Linked DNA regions of Homo sapiens: region 1 is linked to region 2. The links are contacts of gene promoters, found by promoter capture Hi-C in blood cells and fetal thymus (Javierre and others, 2016). All regions are on one chromosome and are shown on one strand. The core of a region is centred on a gene start or on the middle of the fragment in contact, and the rest is flanking DNA. Distances in the headings are between cores, read along the strand shown. Region 1 has its middle 10 kb from the start of ZNF57. Region 2 holds the start of S1PR4 (sphingosine-1-phosphate receptor 4).

The links. Contacts are between HindIII fragments. The CHiCAGO score rates a contact against its expected background, and 5 or more counts as called.
Region 1: a contact is called between a fragment that was not itself captured here and the fragment with the promoter of S1PR4 in region 2, in 1 of 17 cell types (total B cells). The highest score is 5.3, in total B cells.

What each region holds. Positions count from the first base shown.
Region 1 is chr19:2,888,488-2,893,390 of GRCh38, reverse strand. No RefSeq gene overlaps it. Among named protein-coding and RNA genes, the nearest start is that of ZNF57, 10 kb to the left of the region's middle. The HindIII fragment of the contact is 3,088 bases long and covers 1,995-4,903 here.
Region 2 is chr19:3,177,519-3,181,938 of GRCh38, reverse strand. It overlaps S1PR4 (sphingosine-1-phosphate receptor 4), which reads right to left and starts at 3,170. Exons shown (of 1, transcript NM_003775.4): 1 at 1,607-3,170. The coding sequence starts at 3,146. The coding sequence ends at 1,992. RefSeq lists enhancers at 923-972, 1,583-1,812, 1,853-2,032, 2,073-2,722, 4,306-4,420 and a silencer at 2,953-3,502. The HindIII fragment of the contact is 14,219 bases long and covers 1-4,420 here.

The DNA of each region.
Region 1 (4,903 bases), core at 2,289-4,788, 290 kb after region 2:
TCTCGAACTCCTGACCTCAGGTGATCCGCCCACCTTGGCCTCCCAAAGTGCTGGGATTACAGGCATCAGCCGCCGTGCCCGGCTGCATTCCCAGTACATTCTAGTTATTCTTGAGAGCTACAGTCAAGAGTGGGGAAGATTGGGTCAGTCTCAGGCCACCTGGAGAACTTCCCTGCACTCTTGTTTTTGCTTTGCTCATTCTCACCCCGTGGCCCCATCTGATGTCGGGGTGGTGTAAAATCATTGCTGTTCAACAGAATCATGTGGCGTGGGACGAATGCCAGGCCAGGTCCCAGTTCTCAAGGGCTGATTTTTCCTTCCATGTAAAGAGTTGAATATTGCTTACCATATATCTGGTATGGTTTTGTTTCCTATAATTCAATGAACATATATAAATTCACTTAATCTTCCAAAACTATAATGTAGATACATTTATTGTCTCCTTTTGTGGGTAACAGACTTACAGATTACAAAGCTAGCAAGTTATAAGGTAGGATCAGGATTCAGAACAAGTCTTCGTAGGCTGGGTATAGTAGCTCACGCCTGTAATCCCAGCACTTTGGGAGGCTGAGGTGGGCGGATCACTTGAGCTCAGCAGCTCAAGTCCAGCCTGGGTAACATGGAGAAACCCCATCTCTATAAAAAATACAAAAATTAGCCATGTGCAGTGGCATGTGCCTGTAGTTCCAGCTACTTGGGAGGCTGAGGCAGGAAAGTCACTTGAGCCCGGGAGTGAGCCGAGTTTGTGCTACTGCACTCCAGCCTGGGCAACAGAGAAAGACTCTGTCTCAAAAAAAAAAAAAAAAGAAAAGAAAAAAGAAAAAGAAAAAGAAAAGAAAAGAAAAGAAAAATTCCTTCTAGCCCAAAGACCATGATTTTAACCTGATCCTACTTTTTGAGCCTCTCTTATATACCAGGCATTGTAAGCTCAAAACAAAAAATTAGGCTGAAAAGTAATCAAGACACAGCAGGCTCTCAATATAGAATAAGTCCTCGCAGTTCGAGGGCGTGTATTTTTCTGGGAAAAGAGATTTTTTTTAAAAAGTAAAGATTTTAATGTAACAAGTAGAGACTTGATATAAAAAATACGGGTCTTGGGGACCAGGCGCGGTGGCTCACGCCTGTAATCCCAGCACTTTGGGGGACTGAGGTGGGCGGTTCATGAGGTCAAGAGATCGAGATCAGCCTGGCCAACATGGTGAAACCCCGTCTCTACTAAAAATACAAAAATTAGCCGGGCCTGGTGGCAGGCACCTGTAATCCCAGCTACTGGGGAGGCTGAGGCAGGAGAATCACTTGAACCCGGGAAGTGGAGGTTGCCGTCAGCCGAGATCCTGCCACTGCACTCCAGCCTGGCGACAGACCAAGATTTCGTCCGAAAAAAAAAAAAAAATGGGTCTTGGAAGAAAATAATCCACAAGGGAGATAATCGGGAAAACAGAGGGACGTATTTTGCATTTTTTCTATGGATGGTGGGGCATTGGAGAATGAGGATGTATTTATTAATTTATATTTCCATCACTCAGTATGTGTTAAGTAAACACTATCACAGGGACTGCTCAGGGTGTTTGTAAATAGTGTGGAGTGATACCCAGTCCTGCATTCATGGAGTTAACAGAGTAATAATTTCCTACAAAATAAAACTCTCATGGTCCATCTTTATTTATTGATTGATTTTTTGAGATGAAGTCTTGCTCTGTTGCCCAGACTGGAGTACAATGGCGCAATCGTGGCTCACTGCAACCTCCGCCTCCCAGGTTCAAGTGATTCTCCTGGCTCAGCCTCTTGAGTAGCTGGGATTACAGGTGCCCGCCACCACACCCGGCTAATTTTTTGTATTTTTAATAGAGATGGGGTTTCACCGTGTTAGCTAGGATGGTCTCGATCTCCTGACCTCGTGATCTGCCTGCCACGGCCTCCCAAAGTGCTGGGATTACAGGCGTGAGCCACCATGCCTGGCCGGTCCATCTTTATTTTTGCAATGCTCAAAAGCTTTAGGTAATATGATATGTACCTATGAAGTGAAAAGGTCACCAGAGTCTCACCAGTTATTCGGGCCATCAAGTGTGGCTGTTTATAGAGTCCTTTTGAATGAATTGTAAATTGTATTAAAGAGGTGGCCTTCTCAATTTGCTGCTAGTGTAGTCTGAGAGAATCTGTAGCCTAGGAAGCCACAGAGTTGCCCCTGGTTTGTAAAAGGATGTGGTCATCTGCACGGTTTTAATCCAGCATGTGCCCTTTCCTACAAGCAGAATGATAGCTGTGCAAGTTCTTGGTGATCCGGTAGATGCAAGAAGAGCTGTGGATGGTAAGGGAGAGTCTAGGAATAATGAAGGTGAGCTGCAGACACTGTGTCATTTTGAACAGCGTCCCAATTTAGTATCAAAGGATATTTGGCATTCTCAAAAATACTTTGATACTAAATTGGGACGGTGTTCAAAATCCCAAATTTTGGAAAATTTTAATGCCCTTTTATAGGAGATGGTAGTTTTTGTTTTGTTTTGTTTTTGAGACTGAGTCTCACCCTGTCACCCAGGCTGGAGTGCAGTGGCACAATCTCGGCTCACTGCAACCTCCGGAAAGGCCAGATTTTTTTCTAATGAGGCATAATGCCCAAACAGGAGCACATGCTGCTCTTCACACTCATTATTTCCATATGCTCAATTTTCCGATACATGTCACAGCAAAGCAGAAATACAACACCTTTTTGCTGAATTAAACAGCAAGTCGGCCAGGTATGGTGGCTCACGCCTGTCATCCCAGCACTTTGGGAGGCGGAGACAGGTGGATCACATGAGGTCAGGAGTTCAAGACCAGCCTGGTCAACACGGTGAAACCCGTCTCTACTAAAAATGCAAAAATTAACTGGGCGTGGTTGCGAATGCCTGTAATCCCAGCTACTCAGGAGGCTGAAGCAGGAGAATCGCTTGAACCCGCGAGGCGGAGGTTGCAGAGAGGTTGCACCATTGCACTCCAGCCTGGGCGACAGAGCGAGGCTCCATCTCAAAAAATAAATACATATAAATAAATAATAAAAATAAACTCACCTGAACCTTTTTAGATAAGCAAAACCAATTTTTTTCCACTTCCTTGGCAACCGAACAGAGAATGGCGTGAGAAAGAAGAAATCGCGAGCCGTCATTGCTTTCTTGGAACCCAACCTGAAATTAAGAAAGGCCACCAGGGCCATGCCTCTCTCACCTCAGACACAGATTCAGAGAGAAGCGAGAAGGCACCTCTGTCCCCAAGTTCCTGGGGCCTGAGCTCTGCACACACCGTAGGTCTGAAACGTGAACTTCCCTTTGAGGGTCATCCTGGGCGGAATTCCAGTCCTTAGGTATCTGCACGTATTCCCAGGCTTGAGGCCATTTCAACCCTAAATCAGGAATTCCAAGTCTGGTTTTGTGTCTTCTGACTACGAATCTTGCCTAGAGATGCAAAGGTGTGACCGGGTGTGCTGGCTCGCGCCTGTAATCCCAGCACTTTGGCAGGCCGCGGTGGGTGGATCACCTGAGGTCAGGAGTTCGAGACCAGCCTGGCCAACATGGTGAAACCCCGTCTCTACTAAAAATACAAAAATTAGCTGGGCGTGGTGGTGCGCGTCTGTAGTCCCAGCTGCTCGGGAGGCTGAGGCAGGAGAATGGCTTGAACCTGAGAGGTGGAAGTTGCAGGGAGCCAAGATGAGGCCACGGCACTCCAGCCTGGGTGACAGAGCGAAACTCTGTCTCAAAAGAAAAAAAAAAAAAGAGGCCAGGCGCGGTGGCTCATGCCTGTAACCCCAGCACTTTGGGAGGCCGAGGCAGGCAGATCACAAGGTCAGGAGATGGAGACCATCCTGGTTAACACGATGAAACCCCGTCTCTACTAAAAATACAAAAAATTAGCGGGGCGTGGTGGCGGGCGCCTGTGGTCCCAGCTACTCGGGAGGCTGAGGCAGGAGAATGGCGTGAACCCAGGAGGCGGAGCTTGCAGTGAGCCGAGATTGCGCCACCGCACTCCAGCCTGGGTGACAGAGCGAGACTCCGTCTCAAAAAAAAAAAAAAAAAAAAAGAGAGATGCGCAGGTGTCTCATCTTAAGCGTATTCCCCTGGAGGCCTGCCATGTGGCAGTGAGGTGACCGGAAGTAGAAAACGAGGACAATCAGACCTCGAACTCACACCCCTCAGCTACAGGAACCGGCGCTGCCACCTCGTCATTTCAGCATCAATCCTGCAGGCGTCACGCTACGTCACATCCGGGAGAGGCCGCGCTGCCGACAGGTGCAACATGCGGCGGCGACGCCCCACTCTAGTCCCGAACGCTAGCCTGAGGCTCGGGACCGCACATGCGCATTCCCCACGGAGGCCACCGCCCCCTGGCTTCCTGGTAGTCCGTGGACACCAGGCGGTGTCTGTGGTCCCCTCCTTCTCGGGCACCTTGCTCGTCCACTGCTTGGGGCACCACTCGGGGAACCCGAGCGCTTTGGAAATGTGGTTCAAAAAAGGACAGCCCTTAAACGCTAGGGTCCCGCCCCTCAGATTGCTCCCAGCATGCAACGCGGCCCCTCCTCCAAAGCCGCTGTGCCCTGGAGGCAGCTGGGAGCTCCAACCGAGCATGGTGCACAGGTGCAAGCGGGTTGTGCTTCCTGTTTGGGGAGTTGTGTCGTTGGTTTTCCGGAAAGCTCGGAAGGAAGGGGCTCCACCACAATAAGGATTTGTGTATCTAAACATACCGAGCCATGCAAAAGGCACAGTTTTCCAAAGACGTTGTAGCAACTTAGCATTTTTTTAATTTTTATTTATTTTTTCTTTTTAGAGATGGGGGGGGTGGTCTCACTGTGTTGCCCAGGCTGGTCTTGAACTCCTGGGCGCAAGCGATCCTCCCGCCTCAGCCTCCCAAAATGCTGGGACTACAGGCGTGAGCC
Region 2 (4,420 bases), core at 1,921-4,420:
TACACTGAGAGACTAAATTTTTAACTTTCATTTAATTTCTTTTTTGTTGTTGTTTTTGTTTTGTTTTTTGAGACGGAGTCTCACTCTATCGCCCAGACTGGAGTGCAGTGGAGCAATCCCAGCTCACTGCAACCTCCACCCTCCGAGTTCAAGCGATTCTCCTGCCTCAGCCTCCCGAGTAGCTGGGATTACAGGCGCCTGCCACCGCACCCAGCTTATTTTTTGTATTTTTAGTAGAGACAGGGTTTCACCATCTTAGCCAGGCTGGTCTTGAACTCCTGACCTCATGATCCACCCACCTCGGCCCCCCAAAGTGCTGCGATTACAGGCATGAACCAATGCACCTGGCCTAACTTTCATTTAATTTCAATGAATTTTCTTTTTTTTTTTTTTTTAATTTTTTTTTAGAGACAGGGTCTCACTCTGTCACCCAGGCTGGCACGATCACCGCTCCCTGCAGCCTCGACCTCCCGGGCTCAAGTGATCCTCCCACCTCAGCCTCTCGAGTAGCTGGAACCACAGGCATGCAACAACATGCTCGGGCTAATTTTTTTAATTTTGGAGGATTTTTTTGTAGAGATGTGGTTTCGCTATGTTGCCCAGGCTGGTCTGGAACTCCTGCACTCAAGCAATCCTCCTGCCTCGGCCTCCCAAAGTGCTGGGATTACAGGCATGAGCCACCACACCCAGCAATTTCCATGAATTTTCAATAGCCGTGTGTGCCTCACAGCTGCTGTGTTGGTGGGTAAATGGCCCCCACACACCGCATTCCCCATCGTACAGTGGAGAAATAATGACTTAAAGCAGAACTTTCTGAGCCCAGGCGGCGGGTGGTGTGGATTCTGACTCTGCTCAGACACTGGACTGGACGGGACTGGCTTGGTCCTGGGAGAAGGTGGGCGAGAGCTGTCTATGAGCTGCAGGTGCTGGAGGCTTCCGGATTTACATCTGCACTGAAACTGTGGCCACCCGCCCCATGGGGCTACCGAAATATAAACAGATTCAAATTAAACACAACCTACACTTCGAAATTCAGTTATCTGCTTGCACCGTAGCCCCGTGGGGCTGGCGTCTCCCATACTGAATGGTGTGGAGCTGAAACGTCTCCACTGGAGTTTCACGGGGCAGGCAGTTGTCAGCCCCTGTGGCTGGCGGGGAGCGTGTACAATCAACCCTGTGCTTCGGCTTCAGTGATTAAACTGTTTTACCCACCGGGAAAGCCGAGGCCGTTCATGCTGAAGGGGATGTGAGGGAAGATTCCCCCAGCCCAGGAAGCCAAGGTGGTGCCTCTGCCAGCCCCAGAGAGTGGGTCCCCAAAAGATGCAGAGGCCAGAGATGGGGCATGGGCCCTGCCATTTCTAAAGGGGAAGTGAACAAGAAGAGGCGGCATTAACTGTCATTGTCACCCCCACTTCCCGCAACGCCCAGAGGTTGTCCACACACACACACACACACACACACACACACACACACTCCACCCTCACAGGGCACTGGCCCGTGGCCCTCTCTAGCAAAGACACACCCGGCTGCCCCTAGATCCACAGCCCCCCTGAGCCACGGCCCCCACGCATGCACGCACCAGGGAATAAGAGGCCGCAACATCACGTACCATGATCGAACTTCAATGTTGCCAGGGCATGCATCCCACAGTCCACCCCTTGCAGCCTGGGAGCCCTACTGAGGCCCAGAGAGGGGCCGGGACTTCCCCAGAATCACACAGAAGCGGGGTTGTGGGGAACCCACTCGCCCCCACACCAGGGTGCTCTCTGCTCCTACGGGGAGGTGGGGTGGTTGCCTCCTTGTCCAGGGTGACCATGGGAAGCCCATTTGGCGTCAGAAGCCCCGAGAGGCCACCGGGAAGACCATGGGGGCCTGTCCCGTTCCCTGCTCCCCATACAGGCGAGGCTGCGTGCACACAGCTTCCTGTACCCCAGGAGGGCCTGCCTGGCACGCACCCGGTGGCTGCACCATCCACACGCAAGACTGCAACTTCAGATGCTCCGCACGCTGGAGATGCTGGACAGGGGCTCCCGCATCCGAAAGCTGAGCGAGCGGGAGCCGCGAAAGCTGTCCCTTGGCCTCAGAGAGCTGTCGGTGGTGGAAGCTCCGGAGTGAGCCTCGACGGCCCGGGCCAGGCAGTCCCCGGGCCCTCGCATGCCCAGCCGGAGACACCCGCAGCAGAGGAAGCTGAGCACGGCTCTGCACACCTCCCTGCTGCGGAAGGAGTAGATGATGGGGTTGACCGCCGAGTTGAGGACGGCCAGGGCCAGGATCCAGTCCATGCCCCGCAGGTACTCCTGGGCCCAGAGGTTGGAGCCAAAGACGTCGGCCAGCAGCAGCCCGAAGAGTGGGCCCCAGCACACCAGGAAGGCCAGCAGGATCATCAGCACCGTCTTCAGCAGGCGGCGGGCCTTGCGGCGGGCCGCTGGGCGTGGGGCCTTCTGCCCGCTGGCCTGCACCAGGCGGAAGATGGCCCCATAGAGGCCCATGATGGTGGCCAGGACGCCGGCGAAGATCACCAGGCAGAAGAGGATGTAGCGCTTGGAGTAGAGGGGCAGAAGGCTGGAGCAGCGGTCAAAGGCGCACAGGCAGTTCCAGCCCAGCAAAGGCAGCATCCCCAGCAGCGCGGCCAGCAGCCAGCAGAGGCCGATGAAGCCGTAGACGCGGCTGGTCTTGGTGGCCCCGCTCTCGGCCACCGGCCGCACCATGGTGGCAAAGCGCTCCCCTGCAGTGAAGAGCAGGCTGAAGGTGGAGGCGGCCAGGGCGGTGAAGAGCAGGCCCTCCCGTAGGAACCACTGGGCGGGCGCCAGACGGAAGGTGCGGGCCCCCGACAGCAGCACGTTGGCCAGGTAGGCCGCGCCCGTGAGCAGGTCACTCAGCGTGATGTTCACCAGGCAATAGTAGACCCAGCGTCGCGACCGCATGTGGCTGGTGATGGCCGCCAGCACCAGCAAGTTCTCCAGCACCACCAGGCAGCTGGCGGCCACCGACAGCCCCCGCAGGGCCCCCAGGCCGCCATCCTCCGGCCCCCCGCGCCCGGCCAGCCGGCCCGAGTGGTTGTAGTGCAGAACAATGAGCCGGCTGTGCCCGCCGGCCGCCAGCTGTTGGCAGGACTCGGGGGCCACCGGGGTCCCCGTGGCGTTCATGGCCTCCCCCGGGGGCTGACTGAGGCCCGACGCAGGGTGGAGCCACCCGCCTTGCTGGTCTTGGTTTCCTGTTATTTGAAATTTCCTGTTATGTTCAAGGTGCCCTCCAGGGTGGAGGTAAGGCCGAGGACAGGGAGGGGCACCCCAACGGTCGGCCCCCACCCGGGCTCCTGGAGCCAACGCGCTGGGGCTGCCCTGGCTGTGAGGACCCCCACCCCTGCCCTGGCTGCCTTCTTCCTGTCCTCGAAAGCCGGAGACCCGCAGGGAGCCCCGGAGCCGTCAGTCACGGAGGGGAAATGAGTCCCCACTCGGGATGGGCCACCCCTTTCCAGCCGGACGACTCCTCCCCACCAGCCCTGATCACCCCCGAAGCACCCGTCGGCTCCACTGAGGTCTCCCCACATGCTCCACCGGCGCTCAGCACACAGCAGGTGCCTAATAAATGTCAAGTGCCTGCATGCCCTTGAGCACTGACTCATCCGACTTGATCCCCGAAACAGGGCCTGATGCGTTACAGAAGAGGAAACTGAGGCCCAGAGAGCCCGGTGCGTTGCAGAAGGGGAAACTGAGGCCCAGAGAGCCCGATGCGTTGCAGAAGGGGAAACTGAGGCCCAGAGAGCCCGATGCGTTGCAGAAGGGGAAACTGAGGCCCAGAGAGCCCGAGGCGTTGCAGAAGGGGAAACTGAGGCCCAGAGAGCCCGAGGCGTTGCAGAAGGGGAAACTGAGGCCCAGAGAGCCCGATGCGTTGCAGAAGGGGAAACTGAGGCCCAGAGAGCCCGATGCGTTGCAGAAGGGGAAACTGAGGCCCAGAGAGCCCGATGCGTTGCAGAAGGGGAAACTGAGGCCCAGAGAGCCCGAGGCGTTGCAGAAGGGGAAACTGAGGCCCAGAGAGCCCGAGGCGTTGCAGAAGGGGAAACTGAGGCCCAGAGAGCCCGATGCGTTGCAGAAGGGGAAACTGAGGCCCAGAGAGCCCGAGGCGTTGCAGAAGGGGAAACTGAGGCCCAGAGAGCCCGATGCGTTGCAGAAGGGGAAACTGAGGCCCAGAGAGCCCGATGCGTTGCAGAAGGGGAAACTGAGGCCCAGAGAGCCCGATGCGTTGCAGAAGGGGAAACTGAGGCCCAGAGAGCCTGATGCGTTACAGAAGGGAAAACTGAGGCCCACAAAGGCGGCCTGAGGCCAACTTTCTGCCCATGGGAGGACACACAGGTCCAGGGAGAGAGACCCCCAGGGACAAGCTGGTAGGGTCTCGGGGCCAGGCGCCCATTTTGGGATTC